4 separate regions of the Homo sapiens genome follow, and all the other regions are linked to region 4. Evidence: promoter capture Hi-C in human tissues and cell types (Jung and others, 2019). All regions are on one chromosome and are shown on one strand. Each heading gives the region's core, a stretch centred on a gene start or on the middle of the fragment in contact. The rest is flanking DNA. Distances are from core to core; before and after follow the strand shown.

Region 1 (3,449 bases), core at 287-2,786, 970 kb after region 4:
AATCATAAATGAAATTGTAGAACACTCGCTGGCGCGGTGACTCACGCCTGTAATTCCAGCACTTTGGCAGGCCGAGGCGGGTGGATCACGAGGTCAGGAGATCGAGACCATCCTAACACGGTGAAACCCCGTCTCTCCTAAAAATACAAAAAATTAATCAGGCATGGTGGCAGGTACCTGTAATCCCAGCTACTTGGGAGGCTGAGGCAGGAGAATGGCATGAACCCAGGAGGCGGAGCTTGCAGTGAGCGGAGATCGCGCCACTGCACTCCAGCCTGGGCGACAAGGCAAGACTCTGTCTCAAAAAAAAAAAAAAAAATTGTAGAACACTCAACATCGTGTACATGTATCTTTTTCATACCATACACATATTGGCAATATGCAAATTACCTTAAATTCTAACTAATGAAGTGGATAAAATTTATATCAAAGTTTGCTTTTAAATCTTGAAATAGCGTTGAGTCAGTGAAGGCAAACTCCGTTGCAGTGGCGGAGACGCTGGCTTACAAAGCACGGAATTTAAAGCTCATTTCTCGTTCTTTCTGCAGCGTGTTGCTGGCAGTGACTGGCCCCCGAATGGCACTATTTGGCTTCTGCTTTTGAAATGGTGCTAAAAACAACATTCCTTTTCTGTTTCTAAAAATTTCTGAGGTACTTTTACAGTCCTTCTGAAATGTTTGGGAATCTCATAGTTAAGAATATGCTCTTGAAATAGCTCATTTTTGTCATTCACGGAATCAGTGGATTGCTGCACGATACTGTTTCCCTTTGAGGCTGATTGCATTCCAAAGAAATACTCTCTTTTAGCGGCCAGGCACGGTGGTTCACGCCTGTAATCCCAGCACTTTGGGAGGCTGAGGCTGGTGGATCACCTGAGGTCAGGAGTTCGAGGCCAGCCTGCCCAACATGGCAAAACCCCATCTCTACTAAAAATGTAAAAATTAGCCGGGTGCAGTGGTAGGAGCCTGTAATCCCAGGTACTCGGGAGGCTGAGGCAGGAGAATCGCTTGAATCCGTGAGGCAGAGGTTGCAGTGAGCCGAGATCATGCCTTTGCACTCCAGCCGGGCAACAAGAGCGAAACTCCATCTCAAAAAAAAAAGTTTACCTAATAAATTATCATCTATGGTACTTTCAAAGGAATAAGTGCCTGTTTTCTTAGTAGGGCTGCAGGTTTCAATATGCTAATGTCTGTCTCTAAATATTTAAACTTCTACGTGGTTTACTTCCTTATTGCTTTCAGGTCTCCATTCAGAAGTCACCAAATTAAACAGGCCTTGCCTGATCACTCCGTGTAGATTACTCTTCCCATCTTCCCCACACTTCTCATCCTTTTTAATCTTTCTTCATGAAACGCTGAGTCACTTGACATAAATTTTGTGTTCTTCCTCACTGTTTTTCCTTTCTCCTCACTGGAAAATGAGGTCCGGGGGAGTGAGGGTCTTTGTCCCTCTCACCACCACTTTTTTTTTTTTTTTTTTTTTTTTAGATGGAGTCTTGCTCTGTCGCCAGGCTGCAGTGCAGTGGCACGATCTCAGCTCACTGCAACCTCCATCTCCTGGGTTCAAGCCATTCTCCTCCCTCAGCCTTCCCTGTAGTTGGGGCTACAGGCGCACCCCACCACGTCCAGCTAATTTTTGTATTTTTAGTAGAGACAGGGTTTCACCATGTTGGCCAGGATGGTCTCCATCTCTTGACCTCGTGATCCACCCGCCCTGGCCTCCCAAAGTGCTGGGATTGTAGGCGTGAGGCGTGAGCCACCGCACCCGGCCTCACCGCCACTTTCCTAAAACATCATCTCACCTTTCACAGGTTGGCCACAAGGGTTACCTATGATAGTCAATCAGATATTTGATTTGTAAACGCACTTTATGAATATTCATACAGTTGGTTTTGTTATTGATTGTATTTTAGAATAGGGAAGCTTGCTGTCTTGGGGACAAATTGAAGATCAGATGGGTAGTATGATCACTTTGGGTCCCAGAAGAAACAAAGAGCAGACTCACTTTTTCCTTTAGGACAGTTGGGAAGAGAGTTGATGCTGGGTGGGCTGTATTTTCTTTGAAGCCGAAGTTAGGTGGGGTAGGTTAGAGAACCGTGGAACGTAAGAGTGCAGTGGCGTGATCTCGGCTCTCTGCAACCCCCAACTCCTGGGTCCAAATGACCCTCCTGCCTCAGCTTCCTGAGTAGCTGGGACTACAGGTGCCCACCACCACACCCGGCTAATTTTTTTATTTTTTATTTTTGTGGAGACAGGGTTTTGCCATGTTACCCAGGCTGGTCTCAGACTCTTGGTCCCCCAAAGGGCTAGGATTCCAGGTGTGAGCCACTGTGCCTGGTCCAAGTAACAGTTCTTAAAAGAAACAACAGAGAAAACACAGGGGAGGAAATCATCAGTGAAGTCGTTCAAGAAAAAAATTCCCTGTAAAGAAGCATAGTAAGAAGTTTCCAGATTGAAAGGACCCACTTGACTTCCCAGTACAATAACATCGACATGAAAGTGACTAACTACAAGCTTCCAGAGGAGGAAGACAGGTCACATGGCAAAAAGATCAAGAATAAGAATAGCTTTGGACTTCTCAACAGCAGCACCAGAAGTAAGACAACTAAGCAATGCCTTACAGTTTCATAGACAACTGGCTTTGGGTCTATAATTCTATATACAGCTGAATTAACAACCATGTGTGTGGGTAAGAAAAAAAGACTTTGACCTTCGGACAGGCAAGGTCCGAAAATGAAGGAATAAAGAAAGAGGAAATAATAATATACAATAAATGGGATAAGGGCCTGCTCTTTTCATAACAGAACTTGTAGTACTACTCGATCCTTTCTCTGCAACTATGACTTTGATACATGCTGAAACTTAAAAGTAAGTGGGGAGGTGGGTCCAGTGGCTCATGCCTGTAATCCCAGCACTTTGGGACACCGAGGCGGGAGGAGGATCGCTTGAGCCCGGGAGTCTGAGACCAGCCTGTGAAACATAGTGAGACCCCACCTCTACCAAAAGTTTAAAACATTAGTTGGCTGTGGTAGCATGCACCTGTAATCCCAGCTACTCAGGAGGCTGAGATGCGAGGAGCACGTGAGCTTGGGAGGTAGAGGCTACAGTGAGCCATGATTTCGCCACTGCACTCCAACCTGTGCAACAGAGTGAGATCTTACATCTCAAAAAATAAGTAAGTTTAGGTGTAACAGATGGATAAAAGACTGAGAGGTGGGCATGGAGAGTGGTAAATCTTTCTTCTGTCTTCCCTTGGAAAGAGTTTAAGATTCGGAGTCAGAAAAATCAGGCTGGGCGCGGTAGCTCACGCCTGTAATCCCAGCACTTTGGGAGGCCAAGGAGGGCAGATCACTTGATGTCAGGAGGTTGAGAGCAGCATGGCCAACGTGGTGAAACCCTGTCTCTACTAAAAATATAAAAATTACCAGGCCTGGTGATGTATGCCTGTAA
Region 2 (3,378 bases), core at 616-3,115, 890 kb after region 4:
ACGCACACACACATTTTAATTGACAGATAATAGCTGTACATATTTACAGGGTAGATAGTGATGTTGCAATATACATAATGTACAGTGATCAGGTCAGGGTAATTCCTATATCCACAATTGCTGGAAAAGGAGGAGAGACCCAAGAGACCAGTCTTTTGGACTTGAGTTTTTGAAAATATATATTTAATTTTAAAAACTTGCAAAACAGGCCAGGCACGGTGGCTCACGCCTGTAATCCCAGCACTTTGGGAGGCCGAGGCTGGCAGATCACCTGAGGTCAGGAGTTAGAGACCACCCTGGCCAACATGGTGAAATCCCATCTCTACTAAAAATACAAAATTAGCTAGGCATGGTGGTGCATGCCTGTAATCGCAGCTACTTGGGAGGCTCAGGCAGGGGAATTGCTTGAACCTCGGAGGCAGAGGTTGCAAGTGAACTGACATCATGCCACTCCACTCCAGCCTGAGCAACAGAGTGAGTGAGACACAATCTAAAAAAAAAAAAAAAAAAAAAAGGCCAGGTGCGGTGGCTTACCCCTGTAATCCTAGCACTTTGGGAGGCCGAGGTGGGCGGATCACAAGGTCAGGAGATTTAGACCATCCTGTGAATGGTGAAAACCCCGTCTCTACTGAAAATACAAAAAAAAAAAAAAAAAAAAAAAAAATTAGCCGGTCCTGGTGGTGGGTGCCCGTAGTCCCAGCTACTCCAGAGGTTGAGGCGGGAGAATGCCGTGAACCTGGGAGGCGGAGCTTGCAGTGAGCTGAGATTGCGCCACCGCACTCCAGCCTGGGAGACAGAGCGAGACTCCGTCTCAAAAAAAAAAAAAAAAGGCTGGGTGTGGTGGCTCATACCTGTAATCCCAGCACTTTGGGAGGCCGAGGCAGGCAGATCACAAGGTCAAGAGATTGAGGCCATCCCGGCTAACAGGGTGAAACCCCGTCTCTACTAAAAATACAAAAATTAGCTGGGCGTGGTGGCACGTGCCTGTAGTCCCAGCTACTCGGGAGGCTGAGGCAGGAGAATCGCTTGAACCCGGGAGGCGGAGGTTACCTTGAGCCAAGATTGCGCCACTGCACTCCAGCCTGGCGACAGAGTGAGACCCCGTCTAAAAAAAAAAAAAGGCAAAACAGATACACAAAAATAGAAAATCTAAATGGTTCTATATTTATTTATTTATTTAAGTCTCTCTCGGTCGCCCAGGCTGGAGTGCAGTGGCGCGATCTCGGCTCACTGCAAGCTCCGCCTCCCGGGTTCACGCCATTCTCCTGCCTCAGCCTCCCGAGTACCTGGGACTACAGGCACCCGCCACCACGCCCGCCTAATTTTTTTGTATTTTTAGTAGAGACGGGGTTTCACTGTGATAGCCAGGATGGTCTCGATCTCCTGACCTCGTGATCCGCTGGCCTCAGCCTCCCAAAGTGCTGGGATTACAGGCGTGACCACCGCGCCAGGCTATATATATATATTTTTTAATCAAATCTATAATAGAGGCCTTTCCTAAAAAGAAAAAAAAAGCCTTTTGAACATATATATTGCAGAATTACATAGGATTACATTTCTACACCAATTATATTGCCATTTAAAAATATTTCTCACTTGGTTACATAAAAATATTATTCTACAACAGTGTAATATGCATTTTTTATTCTGTCTTGAACATCTTTTTATATATTTATTGTATATTTGTGTTTTTTCCTTTATGAATTGCCTGTATAACATCCTTAACCCAATCTTATTTTGTTTAATTTTGAAGTCCTTTTATTTGTATGTTAACTATATTAAGCTTTGATCTGGCATATTTGTTACAAATTTTTTTTTCTATTAGTTTGGCTTTTGATTTGGTAAATGACATTTTAAAACATGCACTTGTTTTTAAATTGTATTTGAAATTTTTAAAAAAGAATAGTCTACCTGAGAAGACCTCTGAGAAATATGATTTTCCATCTCATTACAGCTCCATGACACTGTAGCGTGCCTTACAGATTGGCACCGCTAACAATTATACAGCGAGCTGGTCTACCTCTCAATGCCTCTTGATCATGAGCTCTCAGGAAATGACAGCTCCGGGAATTAATATCCAGAAGACGAGTCTTGGCCGGGCGCGGTGGCTCACACCTGTAATCCCAGCACTTTGGGAGACCGAGGCAGGCGGATCACAAGGTCAGGAGAGCGAGACCACCCTGGCCAACATGGTGAAACGCTGTCTCTACTAAAAATACAAAAATTAGCTAGGTGTGGTGGTGTGTGCCTGTAATTCCAGCTCTTTGGGAGGCTGAGGCAGGAGAATCGCTTGAACTAGGGAGTCGGAGCTTGCAGTGAGCCGAGATCGCACCACTGCACTCCAGCCTGGCGACAGAACGAGACTCTGTCTCAAAAAAAAAAAAAAAAAAAAAAAAAAAAAGCCTCTGGGCCCACCTCTTCTCTTCAGGGCTCCTACAGATAACACATTGGTCCTGGCCACTAAAATGTCCCAATGCCAGCTGAGAGAGGAAGATAAGAACTGGCAGGCCCCCCTTTCCTCTGGAAGTTGTGTCATATTCTGTGAACTTGGCCTCAAGAGGGAGATAAGAACTGGGTAAGGCTCACTTCCCCACGGAGATGGTTTCATGCCCAGTAGACACTTGCCCCGAGTCCGGAGAAGCAGTAGGTGCTTTGCAAATATTTACCTAGCTACATGGCAACCGGGCAGTGCTGTCAGAGTTCTGTGTCATTTCTGGGCCACACGCCCCACACCCCATTCTCTCCTCTTGCATTACAAAGGCTACGTCCCTTCCCACAGCTACCTTTCCACAAGTGTTCAAAACCACGTGAAGGTCAGACTCCTTTGATTTCTAAATCATGCCCTTAGCCAAGATTGAACTTCCAATAGAGAAAATTTTAGGTTTGCTTTCATGTGTGAGGTGAAATGACTGTCCCTTTGTCAGAGGCGTTTGAACCAGAGCAACTCCATCTTAAACAGGAGCTGGGTAAAATAAGGCTGAGACCTACTGGGCTGCATTCCCAGATGGTTAAGGCATTCTAAGTCACAGGATAAGATAGGAGATCCGCACAAAACACAGGTCATAAAGACCTTGCTGATAAAACAGGTTGCAGTAAAACAGTGGCCAAAACCAACATGGCGAGGACAGTGTCCTCTGGTGGTCCTCACTGCTACACTCCCACCAGCGCTATGACAGTTTACAAATGCCAAGGCCACATCAGGAATTACCCTGTATGGTCTAAAAAGGGGAGGCATGAATAATCCACCGCTTGTTTAGCGTATCATCCAGAAATAACCATAAAAATGGACAACCAGCAGCCCCCTGCGCTACTCTATCTATGGAGTAGCCATTCTTTTATTTCTCTACTTTCTTAATAAACTTCCTTTCACTTTACTCT
Region 3 (3,402 bases), core at 242-2,741, 960 kb after region 4:
GGCCTCAGATAATCGAACCGCCTTGGCCTCCCAAAGTGCTGGGATTACAGGCATGAGCCACTGCACCCGGCCTTCCCCAAGTTTTAATCAACTCTTTGTAATTCTTGCTTTTCCAGATTCACAAAGCTAAGAACCAGTCAAAGCTAAGAACTGTTCTATAGTGGAAATACTAACACACTGTCAGCGTGTGAATCCCTGCCCAAGGGGCCAGCCTTTCTCTCTTACGTCTCTCTTTAAATGCCACATAATATTTTCAAATGCAACATTATCTTTAACATGGCTGCTTACCTAATCTTACAATATAAGATGAAATATGAAAATGTATTCTACCACTCTAAAAATCACTTACCATATTTGTTAGTATAACAACATACATTTTAAAAAACATACTTGTTATCAAGGTATTCATATAGTTCTTCAGAAATTATTGCAGTGCCTACTGTAAAGTATGACAAATTTTATTCACTGTAAAAGGTGACAATGTATAAAAATATGCAAGTTTGGCCAAGTACGGTGGCTCACGCCTGTAATCCCAGCACTTTGGGAGGCCAAGGCGGGTGGATCATGAGGTCAGGAGTTCAAGACTAGCCTGGCCAAAATAGTGAAACCCCATCTCTACTAAAAATACAAAAAAAATTAGCTGGGCGTGGTCGCAGGCACCTGTAGTCCCAGCTACTCAGGAGGCTGAGGCAAGGGAATCGCTTGAACCCGGTAGGCAGAGGTTGCAGTGGGCCAAGATCGTGCCCCTGCACTCCAGCCTAGGTGACACAGTGAGACTCTGCCTCAAAAAAAAAAAAAAAGTGAAAGTTTATTAGACTTGGCTTTCTAAGGTAACCCTCTGCATGCAGAGAACTAAATGGATAAAGTATGGTGCTAATATTTAGGATGCTATATTTTCTATATTACAACTTACACAGAGCTGGCACACCAGAGCAGTGGCTCTAGAGGCAGGCAGACAGAGTTTAAATATCTCAGTTCTGCCACTGTCAGCCAAGAACTTTGCATCAATATGCCATCTATAAAACTGGGAAAATAGCAACTACTTCACAGAATTGTGAAGAATCAAAATATGAATATGCCTAATGTATTTTATAATTGGCATCTACTGGTTGAGGATCCTATATCCAAAATGCTTGGGGTCAAAAGTGTTTGGGATTTTGGAGTATTTGCATATATATGAGATATCTTAGGGATGGGACCCAAGTCTAAACGTAAACTCCTGTTTGTTGCAGCACTGTTTACAATAGCTAAGATTTGGAAGCCACCTAAGTGCTCACCAACTGATGATGGATAAAGAAAATGTGGTACATATACACAATGGAGTACTATTCAGTCATTAAAAAAGAATGAGATCCAGTCGTTTGCAACAAAATGGATGAAACTGGAGATCATTATGTTAAGTGAAGTAAGCCAGGCACAGGAAGACAAACACCACGTTTTCACTTATCTGTGGGATCTAAAAACTAATTGAACTCATGGATATAGAGAGTAGAAAGATGGTTAGCAAAGGCTGTGAAGGGTAGTAGGGGACTGTGAGGAGGTGGGGGTTAATGAGTACCAAAAAAAGTAGAAAGAATGAATAAGACCTTTTTTTTTTTTTTTTTTTTTTGATATGGAGTCTCACTCTGTCATCCAGGCTGGAGTGCAGTGGCACGATCTCGGCTCACTGCAGCCTCCATCTTCCAGGTTCAGGTGATTCTCTTGCCTCAGCCTCCTGAGCAGCTGAGATTACAGGCGCCTGCCACCATGCCCAGCTAATTTTTGTAGTTTTAGTTGAGACGGGGTTTCACCATGTTGGGCCAGGCTGGTCTTGAACTCCTGACCTCAGGTGATCTGCCCACCTGAGCCTCCAAAAGTGCTGGAATTACAGGCATGAGCCACAGCACCCGACCACAGACCTACTACTTGACAGAACAATAGAGTGACTATAGTCAATAATAACTGTACATCTAAAAATAAAGACTGTAATTGGATTGTTTGCAACTTAATGAATAAATGCTTGAGGGGATGGACACCCCTTTCTCCACGATGTGCTAATGTCACATTGCATTCCTGGATCAAAACATCTCTTGTTCCCCATAAATATGTACACTATGTACCCACAAAAACTAAAAATTAAAAAATTTAAAAAAATCATTTATGTGTCAGTGTCACATACATCTTATACACATGGCTCAAAGGTAATTTTATACAATATTCAGAAAGCAAAAATGTCACTATCTCAGCACCCATCTGGACAGATTTCAGATTTTCTAATTAGGGATGCTCAACTCATTTTACTATTCAGCCTTAAGGGAGACAAGGTCAGGAAAGAACTCGTGACCAAGAAGAAACAATGAGGATTAGTGCCTGGAAGGGAGGTACCACCTGCGTCAGACCCAGTGTGTGGGCTCAGTTCAAGTATCACCTTACTGTAAACACTTTCTGGATGACCCCAGCTCACAGTGATTAATTAAACCCCAAATACATTACTTATCAGAATACCTGATACTTTTTTTTTTTTTTTTTTGAGACAAGGTCTTGCTCTGTTGCCCAGGCTGGAGTGCAGAGGCATGATCATAGCTCACTGCAGCCTCCAATTCCTGGGTTCAAGCCATCCTTGTGTGTCAGCCTCCTGAGCAGCTGGGACTACAGGTGTGTGCCAACACGCCCAGCTAATTTCTTATTTTTTTGTAGAGATGGGGCCCCACTATGTTGGCCAGACTGGTCTCCATCTCCTGGCCTCAAGTGATCCTCTTACCTCCGCCTCCTAAAGTGCTAGATTACAGGCATGAGCCACCACAGCTGGTTGATGCTTTTATTCAAAAACATTTTTCGCAACACAACTCAAGACATTTATTTATTTATTTATGTTTGACTTGCTAATAAGCCTAGACTCCTACGGTAGGATGCCCTGCTCATCTTGTTACGCTAGTATCAAGCTTGGTGCCCGTTTCCTTGGTGCCCATCTCATACTAGGCATGCAATAACTGTTCAGTGAAATTGAATCACTGTCTCTATCAGAAAAGCACATTGCCAGCCTCCTTTCCTACACCCACAGCAGGCAACGAGAATCAAACCAAGCATGCTTTCTCACCGAACCCTGGATGCAGCCTCAGAATCCTCTACATATCACTCCAGGAAACCATTACCATTAGATCTGAGTCGGCAAACAAGGTAAACTAGTCATCATACTTGGCCTATTCTATTCACTGAACTCAGTAGAGGTTACCATGGAGAGAAAGTAGGATAAGCATGTTCATTCACTCATTCAACCAATATTTATTGAACCCAGACTATGTGCTAAATTCTAACTGTAAACAAGACTATACCTTATAGAGTCTGGAAAGAAAGGCATGTACTATATGTGGAAGTAATGGAGGATGAGGCATGAAGAATTAGGGTCCATGGCAGACCTCCACA
Region 4 (3,422 bases), core at 61-2,560:
GACCTGGTGATCCGTCCGCCTTGGCCTCCCAAAGCGCTGGGATTACAGGCGTGAGCCACCGCGCCTGGCCGCTTTTTAAAAATTCATTCAACCAACATTTCCACGGATCCCTCATGTGCCACACACTGTGCTATCTACTGGGGAACCTATTGGACAGTAAGCTTCCTGAGCGTTAGGAGCAAACTGTCTCGTTCAAGTCTGTAACCGGCCTTGCCTTCCCCCAAAATGAAACTGTGCACCCTCCCTCGCCCTCAAATCCACGGCCACTGACAAGTACTGTGGTCCCATCTCCAAAACACTGCTCAAATCTGCCACTTCTCTCCAACTTCACTGCCAGAACCCTAGGCCAAGCCACCGTCAACCTTTAACCCAATGACTGTGTTAGCTTTCTATGTTGGTCTCTTTGTCCCCGTGCAATCTGTTCTGCATACGACAGCCACGGTAATCTTCCCTTTCCTTAGTAACCTTTAGGAACATAAATCAGATCATGGGGGTCCCTTCATTGAAATTCTTTAATGATTTTCCATTGCCCTTAGAAAAAATCTACAAAGCCTGCGAGGCAATGATTCATATTCTCTCTCTCTTTCCAAGCTTTCTACTCCCTCACATTTTCCACAATCCACCACGTCCAATTCTACCCACCCCGACACCCATAACGATGCTCCAGCCGGGCCAGCCCGCTTCCACCTTCTGGAACACACTAAGCTGCTTTGAGGTCTCAGGCTCTGTCGAAGAAAGCTCCCCCCAGGTCCTTCTCGCCCTTCGGTCTCCACTTACTCATCTTTCTGAGACTTTCTGGACCACCCTGAGTCGTCCACTGTCGTGCATTTGTTTACTACCTGCTCGTGCCTTTAAACTGTAAGCGCTGTGAAGGCAGCGGAAATGTGATCCGAGCCATGCACACCGTCCGCATTCAATAATCATTGGCAAATCATGAATACGAGAAACCAATGAATGAATGAATGAATGAATGAATAAAAGAAAGCCCAGGCGGCAGGCACTTGGCAAGCACTTAAAAGGCTGCGTTTAAAAGGAAGAACCCGATTCCTTAGTAGACGGCCAGCAACTCCCAGCCCCCGGCCCGGCCATGCCAGCTCCGAGCGGTCCCAAGCTGCCGCCAAATCCAGATCGCGCCCACCCGAGCTCCCGGGACCCCGCGCCTCTAGCCTCGGACCCCTTGCAACCCGCGCAGAGACGTGCGAGGCGGCCCCGGCCCCGCCGCCCGAGGGTCACACGCACGCCCGGGGCCCGCGCTCCTCACCCGATGCCGGGACGCCTTCTTCGTTCACAGCTGAACCCGCCAAAATTCCAACCGGATCCCGCCCCTGCCTTGACGTCAGACGCACGCGGCTGTGGGGCAGCACTGACTGGCTACGCCAGCGAATCCCGGCCCTGGCACAGAGCAATCGGATTGGTTTACGTCATTGGACGCCCTCTTTGTTGGGGGCAAGGGACCTTCCTGTCGGTAGAAGCCAGTCTCCTTTAGGTAAAATAGAGTGTCTGGCGCCCCCTGGTGCCGGGAAGTTTAAGTCATCCCACCCAGTATTTTCCCTGCGGTCCCATCCCACCTCAACTCCTGACGCTCTGGGACCGACTGTTCCTTTGTCAGCCTTATGTCCATTCGAAATGTTTGGGCTCAGGACCAAACAGATCCGGTCCACTTTTACCCTGTCTGACCTTGGGGAAGTGACTTATCTCTCTGAGTTTCCCCTTCACCATCTGTGCAGTGAGGGAAAGGGTAGATGACATCTTTTACACTGAAACCACCATTTCCCGAGTAATTCCTGTTCCATAGATTTTGGGACTTCTAAGGGGCGTCAGGGCTGAAGAGAACTTATCAGCAGACCATATCTTTCACAGATTTTTTTTTCAGTAAAATTCAGGCCTCTTTATGTATTTACATTCTAAAAAATAGTGTTTGTACATAATACTAAGAACATAGTTTCTAAATGCAGAATAACATTTAGCTTTTACATAATTTCAAGGGATTGATAGCAGAAGAGACTTTGATGGACCAAATGGCCACTTTAAGTCTTTCCCCCCTTTTCCTCCTTGCAGACACTGTTCAGGCACTGCAGTTCCCCCACTAATAATCCCTTTGGTATAAGATCCTATCTCTATCCACTACGTACTTTCATTTTCAGAACAATTAAAATCGACTTTAGGAAGACTGAAGATAAACAGTCCTGATGCCATCTACGTTGACTTTTTTCTGTGTCCTAATGGAATATTACTGCTCCATTTATGAGCTCAGCCCTATTACTTAAACCTATATTGGCTCAGGAATAGGAATACAACCATTTCTGAGAGCTGCTAGTGTTAAAAATTCATAGTAATGGAGGAACTCTAGTAATCAAATTGAAAAAGTATGTTTAAATGCGTACTTTTAAACATACGGCACTAAGGCCGGGCACGGTGGCTCACCCCTGTAATCCCAGCACTTTGGGAGGCCGAGGTGGGTGGATCACGAGGTTAGGAGTTCGAGACCAGCCTGGCCAACATGGTGAAACCCCATCTCTACTAAAAACACACACAACACAAAAATTAGCTGGGCGTAGTGGTGCGCGTCTGTAATCCCAGCTACTTGGGAGGCTGAGGCGGAGAATCGCTTGAACCTGGGAGGTGGCGATTGCAGTGATGAGCCGAGATCTCGCCACTGCACTCCAGCCTGGCGACAGAGCCAGACTCTGTCTAAATAAATAAATAAATAAATAAATAAATAAATAAATAAATGCATCACTACATCTAGTTATTAAAAAAAAAAGATTCGTCATAGATTTATTCTTAGCCATTATGCAGAAATTCCTTGACTAATTCTGATCAGTACTCTGAAGTTCTTTTCTTCACCTTCACTTTCCAGGTCCTCTTTGCATCCAGTTCCGGGCAAGGAGTCAGAAACAGAACCAACCTAAGCCCGCAAACCTTCCTTAAGTGAAGAATCAAGCACTTTTTATTGGAATTAGTATAGTGGTGACTTTGAGAAAAGAAGTGGAGGTGATTTTGAGAAACAATTAGGCAAATAGATTTTTTAAAATCCATTGAATGTGGCTTTTCCGTGCCGATAGCGCTCACACAAACATTACGAAGTTTCCTAAAACCCGCCAGACTTTCTATAAGAAGTGTGGCAAGCACCAACCCCACAAAGTGACACTGTACACGAAGGAGAAGGATTCTCTGTATGCCCAGGGAAAGCGGCGTTATGACAGGAAGCAGAGTGGCTATCGTGGGCAAATTAAGCCGATTTTCCAGGAAAGGGCTAAAACTACAGAAAATTGTGCCAAGGCTTGAGTGCGTTGAGCCCAGCTGCAGCTCTAAGAGAGTGCTGGCTATTAAAATATGCTAGCATTTTGAACTGGGAGGAGGTAAGAAGAGAAACGGCCAAGTGATCCAGTTCTAAGTGTCATGTTTTCTTTTATTATGAA

What was found. Contacts are between HindIII fragments. The study calls those that stand out against the background at their distance.
Region 1: a contact is called between a fragment that was not itself captured here and the fragment with the promoter of MCM10 in region 4, in 1 of the 25 tissues and cell types used here (thymus).
Region 2: a contact is called between a fragment that was not itself captured here and the fragment with the promoter of MCM10 in region 4, in 1 of the 25 tissues and cell types used here (H1 embryonic stem cells).
Region 3: a contact is called between a fragment that was not itself captured here and the fragment with the promoter of MCM10 in region 4, in 2 of the 25 tissues and cell types used here (IMR-90 fibroblasts and dorsolateral prefrontal cortex).

What each region holds. Positions count from the first base shown.
Region 1 is chr10:12,186,765-12,190,213 of GRCh38, reverse strand. All of the region lies in intron 1 of NUDT5 (nudix hydrolase 5), which reads left to right. Among named protein-coding and RNA genes, the nearest start is that of NUDT5, 7.4 kb to the left of the region's middle. RefSeq lists an enhancer at 1-136. The HindIII fragment of the contact is 4,727 bases long and covers 1-3,449 here.
Region 2 is chr10:12,265,134-12,268,511 of GRCh38, reverse strand. No RefSeq gene overlaps it. Among named protein-coding and RNA genes, the nearest start is that of CDC123, 71 kb to the right of the region's middle. The HindIII fragment of the contact is 6,741 bases long and covers 1-3,378 here.
Region 3 is chr10:12,203,200-12,206,601 of GRCh38, reverse strand. All of the region lies in intron 2 of CDC123 (cell division cycle 123), which reads right to left. Among named protein-coding and RNA genes, the nearest start is that of CDC123, 8.7 kb to the right of the region's middle. The HindIII fragment of the contact is 5,747 bases long and covers 1-3,402 here.
Region 4 is chr10:13,159,446-13,162,867 of GRCh38, reverse strand. It overlaps MCM10 (minichromosome maintenance 10 replication initiation factor), which reads right to left and starts at 1,310. Exons shown (of 20, transcript NM_018518.5): 1 at 1,262-1,310. It also overlaps the pseudogene RPL36AP36. RefSeq lists silencers at 1,046-1,225, 1,248-1,561. The HindIII fragment of the contact is 5,218 bases long and covers 377-3,422 here.